Regions from separate parts of the Homo sapiens genome. Here all the other regions are linked to region 5. Evidence: promoter capture Hi-C in 16 types of primary human blood cells and fetal thymus (Javierre and others, 2016). All regions are on one chromosome and are shown on one strand. The core of a region is centred on a gene start or on the middle of the fragment in contact, and the rest is flanking DNA. Distances in the headings are between cores, read along the strand shown.

Region 1 (3,752 bases), core at 413-2,912, 640 kb before region 5:
GGTTCCACGAAAAATGGATTCCATGGTCAAATATATTTAGGATATGTTGCAAGTTATAATCCCCTCTTGGAGATATAGAATGGACATTAATATATTGAAGACTGAACCATTTCAGGGGCTTAGGGATACCTTGCCTAAATCAGCACTTCTCTCTTAAGCTTTGCTTAAGGATGCTAATTAACTGTGTACTACTTTGTTACACTTATTTTTATCATTAACTACTAAACTTTTTAAAACTCCACCTACTTCCAGGATGGGAATGAGATGACTGTTACATGAACACATGTTAATTCCTCAAAAATAGATACCACATTTCTCCAGCTAGATTACAAGCAGCTCAAGGACATAACTGACATACTTCTTTGTCTTCCAACAGCACTATGACAACTGCTTATAAACCGATTCCCACAACTGAAGTTTGACTGGAGTTTAAAAGAAAATCTTACCATCCATCACTATCAGCAGCATTTACATTTACACCAAACTGTACCAGGAACTTAACGATTTCTGTGTGGCCTGCACACACAGCATTGTGAAGAGCCGTGATGCCTTCATCATTGGGGAGGCTTGGGTCATCAACCTATATCAAGAAGAAGGGTGAGCATCACTCTAGTTTCTTGTCACCTGAACTGTCACTACTAACTGGCTCCTTTAGGGTCAAGAGGACAGAAATGGACTCTTGTGACACTTTTAAAAATCATAATTAAAACCTATAGGAGCCAAGAAAACTATACCAAGAACAATTCTAGAAATAAGACAGACAGAAAAACCACATTAAGTAGGCAGTCACTATAAAAAGGTTTTTTTTAAAAAAAGGAAGTACCAGAAACTATATCCTTATAGTCATTTTTGTTTATTTATCCTCCCAGCTTCTCACCACAAATTAGTTTCTAAGTAGAAGTTGCATTTGCTATGGAAAGCAAAAAAAAAAAAAGGTCAACTAAAAATATTTTAAATAGTAGGCTTCTAAAAGTAGAGACCGCATCTCTAACCTAATACAGTATAGTACAAATCCATACATGAACAATTTCTAAAGGGGAGTAATGATCTCTCTTAAGAAAGAAAAGTACTCTAGAGGACTCCAAGTGAAAACCGAACTTCCAAATGATGACAATTCCATAGTCATACCTTTAAAACAGCATAGCCTATTCTAAAGCGTGCCCAAGAGTTCCTGAACACAACCCCACAATGCCTAAAAGGAAAACAATTTTAAAATACAATTTCTCTACAGTCGCTTTCTAATTAGAGCTTTAAAACAAAATACAAGGTCATATTTTAAAAATTTACTAATTATACTCTAGCCTGGATGACAGAGCGAGACTCTGACTCAAAAAAAAAAATTTACTAATTATAATCATACCTCATAAATAATTCTCTGTACAAGGTCAAATTCTCCCTCCAAAGACGAATCTAGCAGTAAAGCAAGGGGGTTGAATTTCACCCTCATTCCATGAGCGATACGCTCTGAGCCAGTTTTACGCAAGTTTGTCCTTTTACCCTGCAAAGAAAATGGGTGGAAAATTTAGGATCCTCGTCTATGCAAGAGAACAACAGCAGCAAATGGGAAGGAATGACTTCTCACCTAAATTAGTGAGAGGCACTTTAACAATATAGATTTGGCACATTTTATTGAAGTATAACATTATTCAGAAAAGTATACGAATCTGACATGCAGCGTAATGAACTTTCACAAAGTGAACAAATACCATGGAGCAAAGTTGGAGGAACATAACTTTATAAAATCTAACATAATTACGTTTGGGTTATATGTTATAGTATGAATTAAACTAAGAGTATAATCAGAAGTGGCAAATAGGCTAGCGTTCTGTCAAGTATCAGAATTAGCCAAGACTGGTCTTTAGACTGCCTATCTAATACAGTACAGCAAACTCCACTCTCTTAAAGTGAGCAACAGCACAGCCCACAACTACAACAGCTAACCTATATTGAATGATTATTCATTAACCCTCACAAAAACCCTATGATCCCTAGTTTACAGATAAGGAAACCAAGGCACACAGCCGGCAAATGGCAGAGCTGGGACGCAAATCCAGGTAAGCTGGCTTCTTTAAAGTCTGCCATCTTAACCATTTCACACCAGAATGCCTCCTCGGGGGAAAGCATATAATTAAGGTAAATAATACAGATTATTAGTCTGTCTTAGGTATAACAAGGATAAATCCTACCAGCTTAAACTTTTAATGAATCGGACTTAAAAAAAAAAAGGCAAAATTTTAAAGACTAGATCCAGTATCCTGTAAAACAGGTTTCTTAAACACACCCAACAAAGTAGAGACGTTTACTGTTGTGAGGTGTGATATATGTACTCCACATAATTCTTTCATTTTATCTCAGATGTGGAAAATTGCCAAGTTTTAAAAAACATTAAGCGACAATACATTTCACAATGTGCAATGACTAAAATGTTGCTCTCTGAATGTTATCTGACTGTGGTTAATACAAGTCATAAGCAGTACAGTGTAATGACACTTGCCGATCCCACTGTTAAAGAATGTACGAGATAGTTGCTTCTATTTTACTTAAATCGAGAAGGAAAAGGTAAGACACCTTCCTAGGAAGAGAACAGCAGAATCTTAAAAAGAAAGTATAATACTTTTACCAATTCTAGTTTTCCTTTTTTCTCCTTGAAAATGTGGATTATTTTGACACAGCAACAAAAAGGCCAGAAAATAACAAGTGGCTGTAACGTGGATTGGTTTTGGCCAATGTGGAATAAAACGTCCTTCTTTTCTTATGTTTAAAACTCAAAGAGAATCAAGCCTCAGAACTTACGAGGCACAGGGTTGTTTAAAAACTGTTAACCTCTATTTTAAAACTTTTTTTTCTAGCTTCAAATGTTTAGTACATAAAACTTTTAAGCAAACATTTACTGTAACCAATTGTTAAAAATAACTGTGGACAATTATTATCTTTGAATACTATCATATCTAAAAGATAATAAGGAATCAAACATGCAAAGTACATTTAAAAAAATTCTTTTAATGCTATTTTGCTTTTCACCAGGTTTTAAATTCATAGTTCAGCATCCTACTTCCTTCCGTGCTTACTGAAGCAAAGTGGCTTCAAATTAAACTATGAAAAAGCAGACTTCATTCAGACATTCTGGGATTTTTATTTTCTCTCACCTATGTCAAAGTGAGAGGATGGAAGCTTAAATTTCAAACAAAAGCTTACTATCTGGAAGGAGTGTAGAAGGTGCACTCAAGCCAAAACATACAAAATCTTAGAATAACTTTCGTATGTTAAAGTACAAAGAAATCTTAGGGATCACCATATTAGCCAGAGATTTTCAGACTTCGTTGAAGGGGAGGAAGAGGCTGAAGAGGGGCCCCTCAGCCCAGTTACCCCTCCCTGCCCTCACTCCATCCAGAACCCTTCCAATTTTACCACTGTTGTAAGTTTGAGGTTTCACCTAACATTTCATTTTTTAAAATTTCACTGCTAGAAAATTTTTAAAAAGATTGACATCATCAATGAGAGAAGTTATACCATCTGCCTGATTTCACACAGCTAAGCTAGTAATCAAAAGTTTCAAACCCAGGTCTTTTGAGTCCCAGTCGGGTGCTGCTTCCCTAATATGTCACATCAGCTAGAGAAGAAACAGCAAATGCAGTGTTTATAGGGATAAGAACAAAACTCTGTTTCTTTCACAAATAAATGGGTTCTCTCTAAAACAGAAAAATGTTCTTTATATTGAATAAACTGCATTATGAAAACATTTATAAGATCCA
Region 2 (3,408 bases), core at 801-3,300, 710 kb before region 5:
TTCAGAGGGATGGCCCTGAATTGGCTTTTCAGAGGTTCCTTCTCCTCCCTTCCAAAGCGAAGACCCACAGCTGCCTGAAAATGTGGCTCTCCGCCTTCTTGGGCTGCCTAGGACCTTGAGAGATGTGTCTCTCTGGGACAGGGTGTCAGGTCTGCTGGAGATTGTTAAAATGCTGTTGTCTCAGGAAGGGTGAAATTTAGCCAGGAGCAGTCTTCAGTAGCTTGGTCTGTTTATCGTGTATCTAGCTGTCAGCATGCAAAACAAAAGAACAAAAGGTCTAAAGAAATATAACGCAAAACAGGTACGATTTGAGATCCATCAGGGTTTCTCAACCTTGGCACAACTGACTGGATAATTGTTCATTGTAGGGGGCTGTCCTGTGAATTATAGGATGTTTAGCTGCATCCTTGGCCTCTACCCACACACCCCCGTGTGCCACTCAAAAATGTCTGCAGACCTTGCCAAATGTCCCCTGGGGGCTTGGCGGAGTTGGGGGGTGCATGGAATGCCCCCAGTTGAGAACCACTGGCAGAGCAGGAGTGAAGGGGGAGGTACTGTGGGGGTCACTGGGCACACAGAATGCCATTTGGGGAGCCTGGTGCAAGGGAGTGGCCGGATGGGAGGTAGGAATAGCAGTGGTAATCAGTAGGTGAGTTGCTGAAGACAAACTAAATATTCTTTCCAGCATTGCTTCAATCTAATCCAGCCGCAAGTATGAGTAAATACTGTAGGAAAGGAGAAAACATTGCATGTACGGGGTCAGGGCAGCATTGCTGGGATATTTGAGCCTGTGGGAGGGGAGCTTCAAGCTTCCCACTAGCATTGGGAGGAACACAGCAAAGGAGGAGAAGGGCCCTCCCTGCTTCTTGGAGAATGGTTCCACTGGCAGGCCATTCCGTCTGCTCAGCTTCCTAGCTCAGGTGCCTTTCCAAACCACACATCAGCAGGGAGACAGTGGGAACATCTCAGGTCCAGGGTACCTTGGGAACTGCAGAGCAGCTGGGTGGCCTGACACTGGCATTTCTCAGTGTTGGCTCCATTCTCTTGCTGGCACCCCCAGGTGGGAGACTCTGTTAGCAGGTGTATCTTACTATCCCTGGCTCCCTGGTATGCGTTACAGTTCAGACTCCCAAGCACAAGCTCCCTGTTTTGTCACACCTGTATCTAGTGTGTAACAATCCACCCCAAAACAAATGGCTTGAAACACAAGGCATTTTGTTCTCTCTCATGGTTCTGAAGGATGACGGGGCTGAGCTGGGCAACTCTCTCCCGCTCTCTCAAGTGGTTGCAATCAGATGGGGATGGGGACAGAGTCATCTGTAGGCCCCCTCAACCACATGTCTGGTGCCCGGGCTGAAGGGTGGATCAGCAGGGGTCCAGGGATCTCTGTCTCTTTTGTGGTCTCCCCATCACAGGGACTTGAAGGTAGCTGAACATCTTACAGCAGCTCATGTCCCAAGAGAAAGACCTGGGAGCTGTCTCATCTTTACGACCTAGGCTTGGAAGTCACATAGCATCACTTCTGCCATATCCTATTCATTGAGATCAATGAAGGCTCACCCAGGATCAAAGAGAAGGGACATGGAGCCCACTTCTAGATGGAGAGTGGCAGGGTTCTGGAAGAACATGTGAAACCAGAAACATTGTTGCCACCATTTTTGGAAGACACCACGATTCCTCCCCTTTGAATAATGGCCTTCTTGTCCTTTACCAGTAATAACCCAAGCTGCTTGGACATTAGCTCTTCATGGTTTGCGGGGTGGGGAGGATGTGTTTTCTGGGACTTCCCAAGGTACACAGTAGTGAAGGACTTCACAAGCTGGGCTGATGTGCCAGCTTCAGGACTCCACTCACCCCCAAGCGTTCTGAGATGCCCATGGGGCTCAGGAGCCCTGACTTGCACAAGCCAGCAACTGCCTTTCTGCTTCCATTCAGCCAGCTTTACTGGGCATCTGTTATAGGAAGAGCAGTGGGCTGAGACTTCAGCAAAAAAGACAAAAGCAAAACACAATCCCTTCTCTATACAAGGTTCTTCCCTTTCTGTGTCCAACCAGTCCCTCCATTCTCGGTCCTTAACTCATCACCAAGCCGCCATTTTCTTCTATTCCCCCATTACTCCAAGGCGGGCCTCAGTTCTCACCTGGAGTCTGGCTCAGGATGCCTACAGGTGGCCCCAGAATTGTAATGGCTTGACATGCAATTTTTCAGCTTTACAATGGCATGAAAGCAATACACATTTAGTAGAAACTGTACTTGAAGTACCCATACAACCATTCTGTTTTTCACTTTCAGTACAGTATTCAATAAATTACATTGAGTTGTTCAGCATTTTATTTTAAAACAGGCTTTGCCTCCTTAGATAATTTTGCCCAACTGTAGGCTACTGTAAGTGTTCTGAGCACAATTAAGGTAGGCTAGGCTAAGCTATGGTGTTAGGCAGTGTCAACAAAATAGTCAAATTCTGTGAAATATTTAAAGAGTTTATTCTGAGCCAAATATGAGTGACCAAAGCCTGTGACAAAGCCCAAGGAGGTCCTGAGAACCTGTGCCCAAGGTGGTTGGTTTACAGCTTGGTTTTATACATTTTAGGAGGACATAAGTTACAGGCAGACATCAATCCAGAAAGGCGGGACAACTTGAAGTGGATGGGGAAGGCACAGGGGCTGGAGGGGGCTCCGAGTCACAGGTGGATTCAGAGATTTTTCTGATTGGCAGTTAATTGAAAGCATTAAGTTACTATCTAAAGACCTGGAATCAAGGCCGGGTGCGGTGGCTCACACCTGTAATTCCAGCACTTTGGGAGGCCAAGGCGGGTGGATCACCTGAGGTCAGGAGTTCGAGCCTGGCCTGGCCAACATGGTGAAACCTCGCCTCTACTAAAAATGCAAAAATTAACTGGGCATGGCGGTGTATGCCTGTAGTCCCAGCTACTCAGAGGCTGAGGCAGGAGAATCGCTTGAACCCAGAAAGTGAAGGTTGCAGTGAGCCAGGATTGCACCACTGCACTCCAGCCTAGGAGACAAGAGCAAGACTCGCTCCCAAAAAACCAAAAAAAAAAAAAAAAAAAAAAAAACGAAAACCTGAAATCAGTTGAAAAGTGTGCCTGGGTTGAGATAAGAAGTTGTTAGAGACCAAGGTTTTTATTATGTAGATGAAGTCTCACAGAGGGCCACTCTCAAAGGCAATAGATGGCAAATGTTTTCTATTCAGACCTTTAAAAGGTGCTACTAGATGCTCAGCTAATCTCTTCAGGATCAGAAAAAGACCTGAAGGGAAGGTGATTCTCTACATCAAGCTTGTCCAACCCTCGTGCTGCCCAGGATGGCTTTGAATGTGGCCCAACACAAATTTGTGAACTTTCTCAAAATATTATGAGATTTTTTTTTTTTTTAGCTCATCATCTATCAT
Region 3 (3,822 bases), core at 183-2,682, 990 kb after region 5:
AAGCCAATGGAAAATGCTTTCATAATGATCCATCTTTCATGAGACAAATGCAGCCTTTCCATTCCTGTTCTTTGAAGGTATTTCCATGAAACGAATGTATCTAAACCAATTAGCTGTACTTATTTCCAACACCATATGCAAGAAGGGTAATAATTAACATGGATTAAAACTGAGACGACAGGACAAAATAAATAAGCACACAGACCAAAAAAAAAAAAACAGTACCACAGTTTCACTCTGAACAAAACACATAAGCAGATCTTGAAAATAAAACATGAGCTTGGATGACTGGGAACTGTTTCACTGTGTCCCCACCTACTCCGAATCTCCTTATGTTGCTTCTAGGGATGTAGACAAATTACGCCCCAGGCCAAGTCCCTCACCCCAATTTTTGTGTGGCCTTCCTACTAAGAATGGCTTTTACATTCTTAAATGATTACAAACAAAATCAAAAGAACAGTATTTCCTGAAGTGTGAAAATTATCCAAAATTCAAATTTCACTGTCCATAAAGTTGTACTGGAACACTGCCATGTCTGCTCCCTTCCATACTGCCTGGAGCCGCTCCCATAAAGTCTAAAATATTTACTTTCTGTGCTTTATTCCTGGTCTAGAGCACTCGAAGTGTCATCCTCAGCCATGGGTCCTAGAAATGCTCGTTACTAATCTGTGCAAGTACCAAAATTGAGAAATAGGTGTATGGAAATGTTTATAGCATTTTGACAAAGTAATCTCATATCTATCGAATCTGATAGTAAAACTGTGAGTCGTCTATTGTGTATGTCTTTATTTTTCTAGTAACTCATTTTTATGGCATTTTATATAAATGTTTGTATACTACGGATCAGATATCTTAAAACCCAGGCCCTCACCAGACAGGTTGAAAAGCCCTGGGCTAGACTCGAATCTAATTAATGTCACTCTCCTGATTAAATCCTTGGTGTTCAGGATGAAGCCCAAACCCTTGGGCATGGAATATAAAAGCCCCCCCAGCCTGGCTCCTGCTTAGCCCTCCCCTACCACCCCCTTCCAGCACTTGGCTGACTGTGTCCCCCAGACCCCTGACTTTGGCATACTGCCCTCTCTGCAGAAACAGCCCCATCAACTGCTGTTTTTCCTGTTTGTTCTCAGCACTTGGCTAGGTGTCACTGCCTCTGAAAGCCTCCCCTGAAGCCCAGGGCTCTTCTCTACCCTTGATACACTCAACACCACCCACAGCAAACTCCAGACACAGAACGTAGTAAACCCAGGGGACCAACAGATGCAAATGGCTGTCTTTCCCAGTAAGTGTGAGCTTCTTGGGAACAAGGACTATGCCTCATTCATACATTCCCAGAGCCAAAAACAGTATGTGACCCAAAGCAAGAGCTCAATCCTCTGCCTTCAAACCGAGCTGAACTGACTATCCTGAGCTTAGAAACCATACTTAGAGTTATTTCCCACTTACTGTAAACACACTCTGATAAACCAAAGGAGCTCTTACCTTAATATCATTCTCTTTCAATTCAAGCTCTGTTCCATCTTTATACTTCACAGTGTAAAGCTGGGAGGTGCTGTCGTGGCTCAGAATTTCTACTTCATAATAAAGTGAACTCCCAGGCCATCGACCTCTTACCACTTCACCATCGGCAAATTTCCTACTTGGCATTTTCTATAATTAACCTGAATAGTTTTAAAGAAAAAAATTTGAGTCAATACATACACATTTATGTATTCGTCTTTTTCCACAGGCTGATCACTAAAATACAACTTTCCAGAATTGACTGGTCAGGATTTTAGGGCCAGAAAGGCTACATTCAATCTCATTTGGAATCATTTGAGAGGATGATTTAGCCACTGCGTTATCTATGTGACACTAAAGATTAATTATAACAATGTATATAGGCGCCATAAGTTCACACTATGTAAAATGTTACCCACCTACCGTGATCACAGTTCTCGCTAATCAAAAAATGAGGCACAATCTCACAAAGAACACATTTTCTCATTTGTAAATTTGCGTATCAATTTACAATGGCTTTAAAAATGCATTTAATTGTATTTTTAACAAATTGCCTTTATTAAAAACAGCAAACTATAAACCAGACTGGGAAAATCAAGGATGTACAATTAACATGACTATAACCCAACAATAGGAAGAAAAATAATTCCAAGTCTGTAATGAATAAATTTGGGGGTTATTTAGCTTTCAACTCTTACAGCTAAAGTACAAATGCATACCAAGTAACTCTGCCAACCACCCACCTAAGCCAGGGTGGTTGCCTTCATCCAAGCTCACTTCTCTCAAGCCTACAGCAGCCATCAACCCCCAATTATAACATTCTTTTCCTCTGATTCAAAACATGGCCCACAAGCCCCACAATACTCTAGGAATCCACAAGCAATCTGCAAGAACTGCCACTTACGTGAGGCCTGTCTGCCACCCTTTTTGAAATATCAATTGATAGCTGGGTACTTCCAGCTGCCAGACAGTAATGCCGCTCCATCGGCTGACCAGCGGAATCACATTTCCACACAACAAAACCAGGGCTGCCGACCTTCCCCAGTACCACATGAACTAGCTGGGGCCACGTCCAAGGGGCAGCCAGTAGGACAGATATGAGCTGTCTCCCAAATCACCTTCATTTCACCAACTAAGCACTTCTTGATGTATTGTCCAAGCCTATCAATGTACATTCCTCACTGGCTCCTGTTAAGAGCTGATGATACAATAAAAGCAACATTTAGGAACCTTTGAAGACTCTGGAATTAAGGAGAAAGTTGAATTACCTACCCCAAGGGAGTAGTGGGAGAGTGGGGGGGGAGGCGGGGTGAGGGAGGCCTTTCTTAACCACCACATTTTTTCACTGTTAATCGTCTGTGAAAAAACTTAACAAGCTCTACTAGTTTACAGAGATGGCAGCTAGGTTGGTAGATGAAAGAAAACACAAGTACTTATCTGGTGATTAGAGGATGTCAGTCAATTAACACATTAGGTAAGAGAGGCAGCTTTCTTCCCTACACCTACCTGAGATTGGGCATCACTGGGGTAATGAATGGGTTTGGGCTTGGAGTAGTGGGGAGGAGCCCACAAGTTTTCGGGATGAAGTCAGGCCTGGCTGAGTCACCCGAGGGGCACTTAGGGAGCAGGGGGGCAGTGAACACCTCTGCATGAGCAGGGGCATAAAAACGGAAGGTGACAACATCCAGCTTTGCCTATTTCAACATTTAGCTCAGAGCCTCCAAGTACAAAGAAAGAGGAAGGAAATGTACCCTCCTTCTCTCTTCTCTTGAGCCCCCTCCTCCTCCCTAGGCCCCCCAAAATCAAACCACTCTTACTAGTACTAGCTCTCCTACACTGGTCAGCCAGAGTTAAAAGAAGGCAATTATGTCTTCCTACAGGAAGATGCTCAAGTTGCAAAAAACTCTTTATAAACTTTTGAAACACAAGCCCTTCAGGACGCAGGGGCTACTTGAGGTTTTAAAAGACCCTTGAACAGTTTCTGCGTGTTCTTAAAAACTTATTTACTGGCATCTTTCCATTGCACTTACACACCACATACACAGTATCTGTGTAATATAAACGCAGGCCAGTGCCAAAAAGATTCTTATCAATTATTCTGGGTTAAACAAGTTAACACATATGGTGGATACCTGTTAGGTCTCTAAAGCTTACTTTTTAAAAGAAGAATTAAGATTTGCTTGAAAAACAAACAAAATGAACCGGCATTCTTCTTAGAAGACCATTATCTTATACACAAATGTTCCAAAAGATGAAGCCAACAACATGATGTGCACCCCCACTTTACACAAGATCCACACACAATTGTCAAACGTGAGGATA
Region 4 (3,493 bases), core at 131-2,630, 610 kb before region 5:
TATTGGAGAAAAAGAAAACCGAAAAAGACTTCATGTATCATACCAAAGCTGGATCAGGAACACTATTTCTGCCGGACGTGCTATTCTCCAGTTTCTCCCCGGAGAAACATGAGCATTCACACAGTGCCACGTCTACAAACCAACATTAATAGAAGACAGAAGAACTAAAGCACGAGGCTGTCAGCGTCTCTCACCAGAGCCACACCACACTTCAGCCAAATGGCAATCACTCTCGCCGGGTTCTTTGCACAGATCCACCACGTCTCTGCATATTGTTTCTGGAGTAACTGGAACTTCTGTGAAGTGCTGCTCATTGTTACTGAGATACACGGTAAGAAACATCTAAAAATTAAGAGAGAAACACATGGTTACTGGTACTGTCTGCCTAATGTGGTATTCACCTTAAATTCCTTTCTCCAAACAAAATCTCAGTTGGAAGTGCAAACGTACAACAGAACAGTCTGGCTGTCACCCGGCCAAAGGTGAGGTGTGGACTGGGGGTTGAGGGAGACCTGGAGCCCAGCCCCTACCATGGGGCAGTAGCTCTAGAACCCTTGGTGACCCTAGAATACAGTCACATCAGTTCAAATTAAATCTGTTTTTGCCAGTTTTATTCATGTTGTTTGCCAAATACTTATATATGCTGGACCCATACTACAAATATATCTTCCTGTCAATCCTGTAAAGGTTGATGCGACAACCTCATCCATATATACTTATTTATGCACAGTCTCTTTTTTGGAAGGACACGTAAGAATGTAACACGCTGCTTCTGAAGTGGAAGCAGGAGGGAACAGAGCTTGTGGGGCAGCTCTGTATAAACCTAATCTTTATATAATGTACATATATTACCTATTCAAAAAATTGTACTTTTTTTTTTTTTGGAGACAGAGTCTCACTCCATCTCCCAGGCTGGAGCACAGTGGCATGATCTCGGCTCACTGCAACATCCGCCTCCCGAGTTCAAGTGATTCTCCTGTCTCAGCCTCCCGAGTAGCTGGGATTACAGGCGCATGCCATATCACACCACACCACGCCATGCCACATCTGGCTAATTTTTGTATTTTTAGTAGAGACGGGGTTTCATTATGTTGGCCAGGCTGGTTTCAAACTCCTGACTTCAGGTGATCCACCCACCTCGGCCTCCCAAAGTGCTGGGATTACAGGCGTGAGCCACTGCGCCCGGCCAAAAAATTGTACTTCTAAAATGTTTTAAGCAAATTAAATACCTACTTTGAAGTACAAGATTTCATTAACAAAGTATAAGTAGAAATGAGTAGCTGTTATGTTAACACCTACCTGACCTTGTATATAAACACTGAGACCAACAGAAGGTTTACATTTAAAACTCACTAATAGGCTGGGTGTAGTGGCCTACACCTGTAATCCCAACACTTTGGGAGGCCAAGGCGGGAAGATCATGTGAGTCCAGGAGTTTAAGACCAGTCTGGGCAACGAAGCAACACTCCGTTTCTACCAAAAATTAAAAGAAAATCAGCCAGACATGGTGGCACATGCCTGTGGTCCCTGCTACTTGGAAGGCTGAGTGGGGAAGACTGCTTGAGTCCAGGAGGTCGCAGCTGTAGTGAGAAGTGACTGCACCACTGCACTCCAGCCTGGGTGAGACCCTGACTCAAAAAAAAAAAAACAACAAAAAAACCTAACAATCTTGACAATCTTTCTCCTAGTAAAAAAAGACACTGTATCTTAGAAACACTGCTACTAAAGAATTAAATTTTTCACACCTATTAAATTACAAAAAAAAAAATCTTGTTAATTTCCAATGCTGAAGAAACGAAGTGAAACAGGAAACAAGTTTTCGACAGTGATGCAAATTAGTAAGGCTCTATGTTTATTCAATTCAATGAGTAACTCCATGCAAGTCAGTATGTATCAGGATTAAAAAATAATAATTTGAAAGCGTTACCTCACAGTGAGAATACATCCTGTGAAAATAATTCCAATCAAAGAAAGAGAATGCATAACCTATGGAACATAAACTTGAGGGACAAGTTTAGTCTTTTAAAATCATTAATGAAACTATGCTAAGCACTGGGAAAAGTTTGGGTTTTAAGACTGCAAAAAAGCAGAATAAGTAGGATATACCCTATGACCACAATGACAGGAGGACATCACACAGCAATTGGAGGGCCTACCAACAGTCACACAACTCCCCTTCCAACTTAAATGTCTCTGCCCATTACCCCCAAGTGGAGAAAGCTGCATTAAGATGTTGCTTGGGAAAAGGCAGCACCGGATTAGGGATGATGATGGAAACTGGCTAAGACATCAGACTCGGTGCCTCAAGAATTGGTCAGAGAAAGAGGAGATATACATGAGAGAAAGAGCGGACCCTTGCACTCAAGCCAGTCCAAGCCTCCACATTCTGCAACCAAAGCTGTTAACTCACATGAACAGGTATAACAGAGGGTAATCCAGAAAAATTAAAATAGTGAACACTGTTGAAACAATTTTTTAATGGAAAAATAAAAAAACACTGTAGACTTTCCCAGTATGAGCTCAAAAGCTCTCAAGCTAATTATCTCAGGCTTTTCACATTTTGACTACATAAAGGTACACAGTTCTAGAGTTCAACTTAGCCAACAAGGCAGCACTCAAAATTATTACACAAAAATCATAAAGCCTTGACTAAATCATTGAAAAAATAAAACGATTAACAAAGCACAGAAGTACACTCGTCTGCTGCTCCCAAAGTATACAGCATATTCAGTGATGGAGACAAATAATGTACACTTTAGCATTAAATACTCCCTCTCCATACTCCCTACCGATGCAAAAACTTGCTTTGAAGTTTATCACTTTGAAAATAGTAACTTTTCATTGTAAATATGAAGCTTAGAGGTGTTAAGTTACAGAAATACTGGAAATACAGAGTATATGCTAAACACACACCTTATCAACAAATAAAAGCCTATTATGTAAGATAGCACCTTACCTCTGTAAACTTCATCTTTCAGACACATTATCTCAGAAACTTACATCAACTCTCAGATAAACAGCAGGTGTTATTTTCTCTTTATAAATGAAGAAAAAGACTCAGATAAGTGATCTATTTGCCTACTGAAATGAGAAAGGTACAATTCTGTTTTTCTGATCTATCCTCTATTCTTTAAGCTGTCCTTTATAGAAAGAAAATACTAGGAAATGCTCCATTTAACCACAGTTACCCACACTTTAACAGAGATCTGATCTTTTACTTTCTGGAAAACCAACAGCTTCATTTATTTAAAAGTACAATTAAAAATAAGAATGATGACAGATGTGTTCTATTTATGGTTACTTTTCCCACAGGTTTAACACTGGTATGAACAGTAAGTGTACGAGTTGACCCCGCTTCTACCTGTAATGTATGGAGATTAGCTCTGCGGTGATTTTAGTAATTGTACTGCAGTCCGCGATGCTGGGCCAGCAACACGCTATTTTTGTCGATTCCCAGGCAGGAGATCTAGTTCAAACTCCAGATTTCTTCATA
Region 5 (3,550 bases), core at 592-3,091:
AACAAATGGTTCACCAGATCAGATGTCCCCTTTTCAGAGGCGATCATCTTCTTGGTATTAAACTGAGATTTCAGACTAGTTAGGGTTAGGCCTCTTGTACACACACACAAGGGCCTTTAAACGACATCAACACTGTATCTTCATTATTCGCATCAGATTTATTCAACAACCTCTTTCCAAATGATCCCAGCCCCTCCGTTCCCATAAACACTTGTAGGTGATTGTCTTTCCTGATTGGTAGTTTGCTTGGGTTGTTGTCTGCCACGGTTGGGGGTGGGGAGGTGTCCCACAAAGATGCCTCCAAGATACACTTGAAAAACAAATCCTCCAAGGTTCATTATTTCCACCAGCTCTAATCCACCCCTCCCCCAACACATACAGAAACACACTCCCGCATCTGTCTTTATTGACAGACAATTAAGCTCTGAAGGTGCGTGGGGAGAAGTCATTCTTTGGGTTTCTCCTAACCCTTCCTAACCCCTCAACGCCTGTCTCGTCTCACAATTTGTCAGACTGATTGATTTTCCCCTATTTCCTTTCAGGTCCGCTCCTCCTCCCCGGTCGCCCTGAGCCGCGTCCTCCTGTGTACTGGGTCCTGCGTGCCCAGCACTCATTCTCTTTGACCGAGCTCTTTCAAGCCCCCCTCCCCCCTCCGCCCCTTCCCCTACCCCCCTGGAGCCTCCGTCCCTCGGTCTGTCCATCACCAGCTGGCGGTAAGGGATACTTACTTGAGCCCTAAGCCATTCAAGTGCTGTCCTATTAGCCTAATGACATCCTCATCTGACTGGGAGAGCCGCTTCTTCTTCTTGAGGCTGCTGCCCAGTTCTGGGGTGGCCAAGGAAGAGGAGGCGGCGGTGGTGGCGGAGGCAGCTGCGACGGTGGCTGAGGATGCGGCGGCCGCCCCGCCGGGAACCCCGTTATTGACATTCAGGCTGTTGCTATTGTTGCTGGCGGCGGAGGGGGCGGAAGGCAGGAGCCCATTGGCGTGGGCCAGGTCCCCCGCGGACGACGACGACGAGGGGGACGACTCCCCGTTCTGGGCCGACAAGCAGGCGAGTTCCGGGGTCTGTCCCTGGCCCCCGCCGCCCCCTCCTCCTCCACCGCCGCCGCCGCCACCTCCTCCTCCTCCTCCTGCCCCATTGGCCTGCATGATGCTGCCGCTGACCAGGCTGTGGCCGCTACTTCGGTGGGGGACAGCAGCGGCGGCGGGAGGGGCAGCAGCCGGGGGAAGTCCCACCACTACCACCACGGAGGAGGAGGAGGAGGAGGAGGACGAGGACGACGAGGACGGAGGGGAGAGGCCTGCTCTGCCTGCCGAAGCCCCGGGCTCTCCTACTCCCTCCGCCGCCGAGGCTCGGGGTTTCTTCCGCGGGGGCGGGGAGGCTCCGCCGGTGTCCGAGTCGGAGGAGGAGGAAGCGGAGGCCAGAGTTTCCTCGCCGAGAGAGGCCGTGGTGGGAAGCCGGTGGGGCGAGGCGGGGGAGGGGAGGCGGGGGCCGGGGAGAGGGTCGGGGTGAGGGGGGCCGGGGAGGCGGGGAGGGGGTCAGGGTAGGAGGGTGAGGGTGAGGGTGAGAGGAGGGGGAGGAGGAGGAGGGGGAGAAGGAGGATCCGGGCCCTTTCCCCCCCCCCTCCCGGAGGCAGCTCGGGGTGCGCGGCCCGGGGGTCGCGCCGGGGGGCGCCGCGGGGCGGCTGCGGGGGCGCGGGGCCCGCCGCTGGGCTGAGCCCCGGCAGTGGCTGCGGCGGCGGCGGCGGCGGGCGGCAGCGGAGGCAGCTGCCGCCTCTGTCCTCGGATCCGCTCCGCTCTGCTCCCTGGTGTGTTGATTCTTCCCCCAGCTGCTGCCTAATGGAGTCCAGGCGCTCGCGTCACAGGAAATGCCTATACTGCCCTCCTCACTCACTTCCGGTGGCAGGTATGGAACCTATAGGGGGCCTGTCACCCAGCACGTGCATCGGGGGCTGTCCCGGGGGTCAGGGGAGGGAGGCCAGCGGGCCGGCGGGGTCCGCCCCGACCCCATCCACGACCCCGACTCCTATCCGATCCTATCCCCGGCCCCGCTCGGGCCTTTCCCCTTGCGCCCTGGCTCGGCTGGCTCGACGAGCAGTAAGTTCGTAGCCGCCCTCCGAAGCCGGGCGTGCATGGGATGGCAGAGTTGGCGTGCGTGCGTGAGTCCACCAGTGTGGCATGGGCATGTAAGGTGCGCGGAGGGACTGCACCTTCTCCATCAGGTGCAGAAGGTGAGGATGGGGCAGGGGGCTAGGAGCTTCGACAGGCAGGAACTTCCAGGCACAGGGCTGTGGTAGGCCCCTCTCAATGGTAACCAGGACCGAAATCGGGTTTCACAACCTACTTGTTTTAGGGTGGAAAAACTTGAATTTCCACAGCCAAGTGCCACACAGTTGCTGTACCCGGGGCCATCCCGGGAGCTGTGAGATAATGAGCCGGTGAGACTCTGCTCCACCCTGGGAAGGGGAGTTAGTCTAGAGGAGCATATCTTATGGGGACAAGAAGTCACAAAAAGGCTGTGTGGTGTGTAGAGAAGGGGAGGGACTCTGCTGTTGAGGCTTCACTCTTTTTTAGCACTTGCCCAGCACCTCCTTCTCTCTTCCAGCTGCCTCTTGAGTCACTGCCCAGTTTAGGGAGCAGTAACATAAACCAAACAGTTGCCTCCAAAATATGCATTCTGAGAAGGATTCAGGCACCCATTCAGATCCAGGCTTGAAATTTTTACGTGGCATGTGAGCCTTCTGTGTCATCATGACTTACCAATTTATGTGAATGTAGAAATGCAGCAACAAAGACTGGGCTGAATCTTAATCATTGGCAAATGGTGTGCATTATCCCCAAACAATTATTTTCATGTATGTGGTTGATAGCATCTATACTCAATATGTATAAAGATTTTCTCAGAAATTTAAAGTCTTTCTCTGAAGTAGTTTTCCTGTGGGGAGGGGAAAAAAAACACCTTAGTTTCTAATTAATACATCATACATCGCTGATATTTATTATAGTAATAACTGAAAGTAATTTTGAGGCCTTTGGAGACAGTTGTTTTTAAATTTGGAAATACAATAAAAAATGATGCTGATGAGAAATTAGTAAAGAATCCTGAGGTTTATGGATCCTCAGACAGGAAGAAGTAAGAGGAAGGTCAATGCAGGATCTTACAGGGATTTGGTTTTGTAGTTCTTACTGCTTAAATTTGCTTCCAGGTGGCAGCTGTAATTGCAAGGTGACTCACATACAGTGTTTATATTCACCTGAGGCCGACCTGAGTTCTAGTTGAGGTTCATAGAGCTCTGTCACTGTATCCAGCAGAGCCTGAATTACTAGATAGTTAACACCCTCAGAGAGCCCTGTTTGTATATTAACTTTAGACAACCTTATTATTAAAAGTGTTGTTTAGGCAAAATTTAATTTTTGCAAAATGGTTTATAATAATTTATTAGGCCCATAGCAACATTGAAGACTTGCTTCTGAATAAAGACTGTAGGTTTTATAAAGGAAATCAGTCACTTCATGGCAGCTACAGACAAAGCTCACACTTCATTAACA
Region 6 (3,738 bases), core at 797-3,296, 730 kb before region 5:
TCTAAGGTTTTATAGTTCCCCAAATAATTTCACATACACTGTGATTTGATGCTTATAACAACCGTGTGAACTATGCAAAGTAGGTATTATTTCCCCATTTTAAGAGATGGGAGAATGGATAGTTAGTATTTTGAAAATTGCCAGACCCCACACTTATAAGACTACATGTATTATTAGTAAAATTACTACTAGGGGACCCCAGCTATGAAAACCTCTCTGGGAGATAGCACTGGTGGGTGAGGGGCAGCAGCTTCGGCTCTTGCCTCCTGGCAAGGGTGGGATGTAATACCCTAAGCTCCAACAGACTGGGGAAAGAGAAGGGGCTTAGAAAACTGTCTGGGCTGCTGGATTTCTTTCCGGAGTTTCCCTCTCTCCTTCTACTGTCAGCACGTCCCATCTTTTGCAACACCAGGGAGAAGCCTTTCCATGCCTCTTCAGCTCTTGGAATCCCTCCAGAAGCCCCCTCCCTCCTGAGTGGCATCTAACAGGCCTGTCCAATACTCATGCTACAGCTATGAGGAAAGAATAAACCCTGCAGCTGCTTCAGAAGAGAAAGAAATCTCTTTTCAAATGAAACCGTTTTTTGCAGCCCTGTGGAATTCATATTCTCTGTGATCTCCTTTGGATTCAAATCACGGACCTGAAAGAGGGAGGGGAAGAAAACAGGTTCTTTTCCTCTGCCTGGGCCTGCCGTTCCCTCTGCCCTCCTACACTGGGTATGGACAGACCCCAAGGGACCATGGTCTAGGTGTTGGCAGCCAGGCTGGCTCTACAACACAACATGTCAGCTGCTCTGCTGGGCCTCTGTTTACTCATCCATTAAATGAGGAGATAAGATCTCCCTTGACTGGCTGTGAAGATTAAGTGCACAAATATGTGTAAAGTGCACAAATATGTCAAATAAAAACTGAGACTGACACGTGGAGGTGCAAAATTAAAAAGGAAGCTTTGGTTAGTATCTCCAGAACCTGGCTAGGCACGGTGGCTCACATCTGTAATCTCAGCGCTTTGGGAGGCCGAGATGGGTGGATCACCTGAGGTCAGGAGTTCAAGACCAGCCTGGACAACATGGCGAAACCCCGTCTCTATTAAAAATACAAAAATTAGCTGGGCATGGCAGTGAGCCCCTGTAATCCCAGCTACTCAAGAGGCTGAGGCAGGAGAATTGCTTGAACCCGGGAGGCGGAGGTTGCAGTGAGCCGAGATCACGCCACTGCACTCCAGCCTGGGTGACAGAGTGAGACTCCACCTCAAAAAAAAAAAAAAAAAAATCCAGAACCTGCAGATTGTGCCTCTGATGCATCTCAAACATCCAGGGCCAGGGAGAAAATAATCTAAAGAAAAATACTACTGAAAAAGATTCCATTGCCATGGCCCTCTGAGACACACACATTCTTATTCTCTTATTTTCTCTCTCTCTCTCTCTTCTTCTCTCTCTCTCTCTTTCTATCTCTCTCTCTCACTCCCTCTCTCATTTACTCACAAGGTCAGTGGCCCAGACCCAGGCAGTTCTGGATAATCCCAGCTGTTTCTGACTCACCACCATCCTCAGGGCTGGCTGACTCACTCCAGGAAGGTTTTCCACCATGAAGTGTTTGTCTATGTCCTTGTGTTCCCGTGAAAAGGATTGTGTGGTCAGAGAAAGAGAAGACTTTGCTGGGTCAGTGAGATAGCATAGTGTGAGAGGCTTTGGGAAGTAGAAAAAGCAACATTAACTCAGGTTTAAAAACTAGACTTTGTCCAAATGGTTGGGGAAAGTAGTCATTGTATGTGTTTGCAATTAAATTTGGGTGGCATAGGACAGCCTAAAGCCCTTTGTAAGCAGAGCTCTATGTGCGCAGCGATCCCTAGAAGGCTGGCAAGGGGAGTGGCCAGGGCTGCACCAAAGAGGGTGTTGCCTAGCTGGGGAAGAGGAACTTCAGGTGAGCCAGGAGGCTCTTCTGCTCCCAGGCTGTGCAAAGCTTCTGAGTTGACTGGAATGATAGGTCTGATCTGCCCATTTGTTGCTAAAATGACTTAGGAGGGAAATGACCTCCACCTGCCTGGGAGGAGTCACTTCCTCCAGAGATGAGCTGTCCTTGAGGAGATCAGTGGGAGGAGAAGCCTGCGCTCTGCCCCACTGGGCAGAAGGACAAGCTTTCTCCCAAGAGCCTCGAGCCCAGAAGAAGTCGGGGTGGGGCCAATGGAAATCAGACAGTGGAACAAATGAACAGCTTCCAGGACAGGGCTGTCGCTTTCCTCTGTTTTCAATTGTGATGGCTTCATGAAACCCTTGCACCAGAAACCCATGAGCTAGAAATGAATGCCTGTATCCCCATCTCTGGACTCAGAGTCCAGAGTGCCAACCATTACACAATGGAACCTGTGTCCCCGCCTTATTCAAGAGTAAAGAAAGCAAAGCCTGGTGGTGGACGGTGGTACCTGCCCATCAGGCAGCATGCCCAGACTTGCAAACCAGAGATGGAGGATGTCAAATAAAAACAAAACCATGGGAGACTGAGGCAGGAGAATCACTTGAACCGGGAGGCGGAGGTTGCAATGAGCCAAGATCGCGCCATTGCACTCCAGCCCGGGCAACAAGAGTGAAACTCTGTTTAAAAAAAAAAAAAAATCCAGACTTTTATAAAGGGACACTTCAATAGAAAGAAAGACTATTGCAGGCCAGGCGCAGTGGCTCACACCTGTAATCCTAGCACTTTGGGAGGCCAAAGCAGGTGGATCACCTGAGGTCAGGAGTTCAAGACCAGCCTGGCCAACATGAGGAAACCCCGTCTCTACTAAAAATACAAAAAAATTAGCTGCACATGGCGGCTGGTACCTGTAATCCCAGCTACTCAGGAGGCTGAGGCAGGAGAATCACTTGCACCCGGGAGGCGAAGGTTGCAGTGAGTGGAGATTGCACCACTGCACTCCAGCCTGGGCAACAAGAGTGAAACAAGAAAGAAAGAGCGAAAGAGAGAGAGAGAGAGAAAGAGAGAAGGAGAGAAGGAGAGGAAGGGAAGAAGGGAGGGAGAAAGAAAGAAAAAATAGAGAAAAAGAGAAGGAAGGAAGGAAAAGAAAGAAAAGAGAAGAGAAAAGAAAAAAAAAGAGAGAAAGACAATTCCAATTCAGAGAATCTGCAAGCAGCTCAAAATCAAACAGAAAAAGATTCTTCTTTTCTAGGGTAAAGGAGGAGCAAGTGGAGATAAGCAGACTCTTGGGAGGGGAAGCTGGACAAGTGAGGGGAAATGACCAGTGGGAGCTGACAGGAAAAGGGTCTTGCTGTGTTCAGTCAATTCCCAGGAGAAGCTGGGCAGGGAAGTGACTTGGCAGGGACACTCCACTTTGTTTGTGCTTGTTCAGGCTTGGGGGCAAGCAGCATTCAGGGATCTGTAGGAAAGAGAGAAGTCTGACCAAAGTTTTGTCAAGCAAAGGGGGTAAGCAATGGGTGTCAGAGACAAGAATAGATGGGGGCAGAGGAATAATAGTGACAAAAATACTTGCTTTAAGAAAAGGTAACATCATGGCTCTCATATTAGTATAAAATAAACACATTTTAAAGATTCCATTTCGGCAGGGTGCAGTGGCTCACACCTGTAATCCCAGCACTTTGGGAGGCAGAGGTGGGCAGATCACCTGAGGTCAGGAGTTCGAGACCAGCCTAGCCAACGTGGAGAAACCCTGTCCCTACTAAAAATACAAAATTAGCCAGGCATGGTGGCAGGCACCTGTAATCCCAACTACTCGGGAGGCTGAGAT
Region 7 (3,780 bases), core at 32-2,531, 660 kb before region 5:
GGTGTTTGGTTCGGCTGGAAACGCTATTCAGTAAGTGGATATTTGGGGAATGACTCATTTCAGTTCTCTTGGTATTAAAGTGGCCTGCCTTTCACCTCGGTGAAATCATCTAAACTAGAGACATGTCTTCCAGGAGTTGAGAATGAAATTCCCTCTTTACTAATTTGAGGGTGAGGAAGAAAGCATGTATGGTGGTCAGTGAAGTCAGTTGCTGAACTGAAAAGAGGATAATGTGATCTGTTTCAGCTCACTCACTTGTGACACCCTCTTTTTCTCCCTCCACAGAGATATTTAAGCAGCTGGATCCCGAGAATACTGGAACAATAGAGCTCGACCTTATCTCTGTGAGTCAGCAGGCCCCGCCTTGCTTCTAAGGGGATGGGGGAGGCATGGGGCGGAAAGGGCTGTTACTTGAGTGATCTGCTTTTTCAAGTTTTGCTTTAAAGAGCTCTTGGTCTGTCGGGGCCAGGCCTGTAACCGGTTGTAAGATCCCACAATGCACTTTTACTTGCAGTTGTTTTCCAACCACCTATTCTCAAGTCCAAAATGCACGCCTGGCTCCCTCTTCTCATGAGCTTTGACTTGAGTGTAGCTCAAGGTTAAACTAAGGAGTGGCTGCAGGATCATGCTTAGAAAAATGAACTCCTGATTAGCATGCAAGGGAGAACATGTTTATATAAAGAAATCCTTCAGCTGAAATTCAAGTTGGGTTTTGGGAAGATCCATCATTCTTAGAGTGGATCTACTTAAAATACTTTAAGCAAATTAGTTTTCTCTACTCCCTCCCCGTTTAAGATAAAACCAATACTAGTAAATACGTTTGCCATTTATTATTGTTATTGCACTCATGTGTCTGGAACCCTAGCAATACACATCTCTGAAATGATCATCAATCTGAATTAAGTGGGTATGCTAATTTCACAAAAAGCAAAGCGTAAAATGTTCTCGTGTCATCCCAATGACAGGAAGTTCTCTCACTGAAAGAAAGAAGCCAGGTGGGGTATACTTCCATTATCACCTGGCTCCAGTCAGCATTTCCTCTATACTCAGGGAAGGCCACAGAGGGCCGGGCGAAGTGGCTGACACTGGGTGAGAATGGCAGTTGTCAGTCCTGTCCGTGTAACAGAGGAGTGAAGTGGTGAGGAGGGCAGGTCTAAGGCACTGGCAGCTCTTTTCCATGGATTTTGAACTCTGGAGGAAGGCAGCAACTAAATAACTGTCTCATTCTGCTATTATGCATTGTATTAGCAAAGTGAAAATATAGTCTATCTGGTTACAAATAACACTAACTTGCTTAAAACTTTACATATCCTAGGAAATATCTCTACCCCTAGATTGCAATGTAGAGTCAACCCCATCTCTAAAAAAATAAAAAATTAGGCTGGCCGCAGTGGTTCATGCCTGTAATCCCATCACTTTGGGAGGCCAAGGCAGGTGGATCACCTGAGGTCAGGAGCTCAAGACCAGCCTGGCCAACATGGTGAAACCGCGTCTCTACTGAAAATACAAAAATTAGGGCTGGGCGCGGTGGCTCACATCTATAATCCTAGCACTTTGGGAGGCCAAGGCGGGCGAATCACCTGAGGTTGGGAGTTCGAGACCAGCCTGAGTAACATGGAGAAACCCCATCTCTACTAAAAATACAAAATTAGCCAGGCGTGGTGACACATGCCTGTTAATCCCAGCTACTCGGGAGGCTGAAGCGAAAGGATTGCTTGAACCCGGGAGGCGGAGGTTGCGGCGAGCTGAGATTGCACCATTGTACTCCATCCAGCCTGGGCAACAAGAGCAAAACTGCATCTAAAAAAAAAATTAGCTGGGCGTGGTGGCAGGTGCCTGTAAATACGTTACTCTGGAGGCTGAGGCAGGAGAATCACATGAACCTAGGAGGTAGAGGTTGCAGTGAACTGAGATGGTGCCACTGCACTCCAGCCTAGGCAACAAGAGCAAAACCCTGTCTCAGAAAAAAATAAATAAAAAATAAAAAAATGAGCCAGGCATGGTGGTGCGTGCCTGTAGACCCAGCTACCCAGGAGGCTAAGGTGGGAGGAACACCTGAGCCCAGAAGTCAAGGCCGCAGTGAGCCATGATCTCCCCACTACATTCCATCTTGGGTGACAGAGCAAGGCCCTGTCTCAAAAAATTTAAAATGAAATAAATAGTAGAGTCAACACAACTGTGACACGAAACATGCCACATGTTAAGTTCTGGAAATCCTAGCCTGTCATTCTTGCTGGATATCCTATTCTACCCCAGCCACCCACCCCCACTCCAGGGTCCACCTGGCCTGCCTGCTCAGTCCACTCCCTCCGCATCTCCTCCGAGAAGCATCTTCTTACCCACTGGCTTTTCCTGCCACTCCTAAGCCTTACCTTTTGCAGGTTCCTGGAGATCCTCGCTTCTCGTAGTCTTTGCAAGGATGAGCCATGTTCAGAAGCTCTCCGTTCAGTCTGCAGGGATTTCAACCTTGGCTGCAGATTCCATCACATGGGGAGCTTTGCCAAAGTGCTGGTGTCCTGTCTGTATCCCAGACCAGTTGAATCAATCTGATTTAAAGTTTCCGTATCACTACAACTTAGAACCAATGCTGAACACCATTGGTTGCAGGGATATCCACATCCCAAACTAACTTCTGATGTGATACTCTGAGGCAGAGATGTGAAAATGCTAATTTCTGTTGTGTGAATTTCACTTTTCATGTGTGCAATCAACCCTGTAATATGATTCATGGCCACTTAATGCAAATCACACAGACTACTGACCTGTTAAAAGCTAGACTCTAGAAATCAGGTAAGAAAAATATGAGTTAGTGCACTGATATTGTAGCCCTCAATCAGCTTTTCCAGTACAAGTTTTTTGGAACAATCTACAGGTACTTAAATAGCCTTTAATTTTAAAAGTGGTCACTGAGCTGACTTTTTTTTTTCCTTCCTCACAGTGGCTCTGTTTCTCAGTACTTTGAAGTTATAACTAATCTGCCTGAAGACTTCTCATGATGGAAAATCAGCCAAGGACTAAGCTTCCATAGAAATACACTTTGTATCTGGACCTCAAAATTATGGGAACATTTACTTAAACGGATGATCATAGCTGAAAATAATGATACTGTCAATTTGAGATAGCAGAAGTTTCACACATCAAAGTAAAAGATTTGCATATCATTATACTAAATGCAAATGAGTCGCTTAACCCTTGACAAGGTCAAAGAAAGCTTTAAATCTGTAAATAGTATACACTTTTTACTTTTACACACTTTCCTGTTCATAGCAATATTAAATCAGGAAAAAAAAATGCAGGGAGGTATTTAACAGCTGAGCAAAAACATTGAGTCGCTCTCAAAGGACACGAGGCCCTTGGCAGGGAATATTTAAAGCAACTTCAAGTTTAAAATGCAGCTGTTGATTCTACCAAACAACAGTCCAAGATTACCATTTCCCATGAGCCAACTGGGAAACATGGTATATCATGAAGTAATCTTGTCAAGGCATCTGGAGAGTCCAGGAGAGAAGACTCACCTCTGTCGCTTGGGTTAAACAAGAGACAGGTTTTGTAGAATATTGATTGGTAATAGTAAATCGTTCTCCTTACAATCAAGTTCTTGACCCTATTCGGCCTTATACATCTGGTCTTACAAAGACCAAAGGGATCCTGCGCTTGATCAACTGAACCAGTATGCCAAAACCAGGCATCCAATTTGTAAACCAATTATGATAAAGGACAAAATAAGCTGTTTGCCACCTCAAAACTTTATGAACTTCACCACCACTAGTGTCTGTCCAT

The links. The method cuts DNA at HindIII sites, captures the fragments that hold promoters and counts their contacts. A CHiCAGO score of 5 or more calls a contact.
Region 1: a fragment that was not itself captured here is called in contact with the fragment with the promoter of WDR26 in region 5 in 7 of 17 cell types (neutrophils, total B cells, total CD8 T cells and 4 more); the score reaches 9.3 in neutrophils.
Region 2: a fragment that was not itself captured here is called in contact with the fragment with the promoter of WDR26 in region 5 in 2 of 17 cell types (naive B cells and monocytes); the score reaches 6.6 in naive B cells.
Region 3: a contact is called between a fragment that was not itself captured here and the fragment with the promoter of WDR26 in region 5, in 2 of 17 cell types (neutrophils and erythroblasts). The highest score is 6.1, in neutrophils.
Region 4: a fragment that was not itself captured here is called in contact with the fragment with the promoter of WDR26 in region 5 in 4 of 17 cell types (naive B cells, total B cells, neutrophils and 1 more); the score reaches 8.7 in naive B cells.
Region 6: a contact is called between a fragment that was not itself captured here and the fragment with the promoter of WDR26 in region 5, in 2 of 17 cell types (total B cells and naive B cells). The highest score is 6.6, in total B cells.
Region 7: a fragment that was not itself captured here is called in contact with the fragment with the promoter of WDR26 in region 5 in 2 of 17 cell types (monocytes and total B cells); the score reaches 6.3 in monocytes.

What each region holds. Positions count from the first base shown.
Region 1 is chr1:223,791,943-223,795,694 of GRCh38, forward strand. TP53BP2 (tumor protein p53 binding protein 2) reads right to left here. Exons shown (of 18, transcript NM_001031685.3): 14 at 1,361-1,498; 15 at 447-580. Among named protein-coding and RNA genes, the nearest start is that of TP53BP2, 52 kb to the right of the region's middle. The HindIII fragment of the contact is 3,013 bases long and covers 157-3,169 here.
Region 2 is chr1:223,726,963-223,730,370 of GRCh38, forward strand. The region is part of intron 2 of CAPN2 (calpain 2); the gene reads left to right. Among named protein-coding and RNA genes, the nearest start is that of CAPN2, 16 kb to the left of the region's middle. RefSeq lists an enhancer at 529-1,189. The HindIII fragment of the contact is 2,486 bases long and covers 808-3,293 here.
Region 3 is chr1:225,422,429-225,426,250 of GRCh38, forward strand. It overlaps LBR (lamin B receptor), which reads right to left. Exons shown (of 14, transcript NM_002296.4): 2 at 1,483-1,661. The coding sequence starts at 1,647. Among named protein-coding and RNA genes, the nearest start is that of LBR, 3.7 kb to the right of the region's middle. The HindIII fragment of the contact is 4,429 bases long and covers 1-3,647 here.
Region 4 is chr1:223,821,026-223,824,518 of GRCh38, forward strand. TP53BP2 (tumor protein p53 binding protein 2) reads right to left here. Exons shown (of 18, transcript NM_001031685.3): 2 at 195-342. Among named protein-coding and RNA genes, the nearest start is that of TP53BP2, 23 kb to the right of the region's middle. The HindIII fragment of the contact is 2,946 bases long and covers 1-2,853 here.
Region 5 is chr1:224,432,956-224,436,505 of GRCh38, forward strand. It overlaps WDR26 (WD repeat domain 26), which reads right to left and starts at 1,842. Exons shown (of 14, transcript NM_001379403.1): 1 at 729-1,842. The coding sequence starts at 1,450. It also overlaps a transcript of CNIH3 not described here. RefSeq lists a silencer at 1,821-2,220 and an enhancer at 2,561-2,750. The HindIII fragment of the contact is 13,558 bases long and covers 1-3,550 here.
Region 6 is chr1:223,705,828-223,709,565 of GRCh38, forward strand. It overlaps LOC105373281 (a long non-coding RNA gene), which reads right to left and starts at 1,823. Exons shown (of 3, transcript XR_949164.2): 1 at 1,541-1,823. It also overlaps a transcript of CAPN2 not described here. RefSeq lists enhancers at 832-2,031, 2,032-2,531. The HindIII fragment of the contact is 175 bases long and covers 1,960-2,134 here.
Region 7 is chr1:223,771,896-223,775,675 of GRCh38, forward strand. CAPN2 (calpain 2) reads left to right here. Exons shown (of 21, transcript NM_001748.5): 19 at 1-30; 20 at 286-344; 21 at 2,939-3,780. The coding sequence ends at 2,962. It overlaps LOC105373041 (a long non-coding RNA gene), which reads right to left and starts at 2,939. Exons shown (of 2, transcript XR_949167.3): 1 at 2,373-2,939; 2 at 816-1,191. RefSeq lists an enhancer at 350-1,005. The HindIII fragment of the contact is 3,472 bases long and covers 1-3,017 here.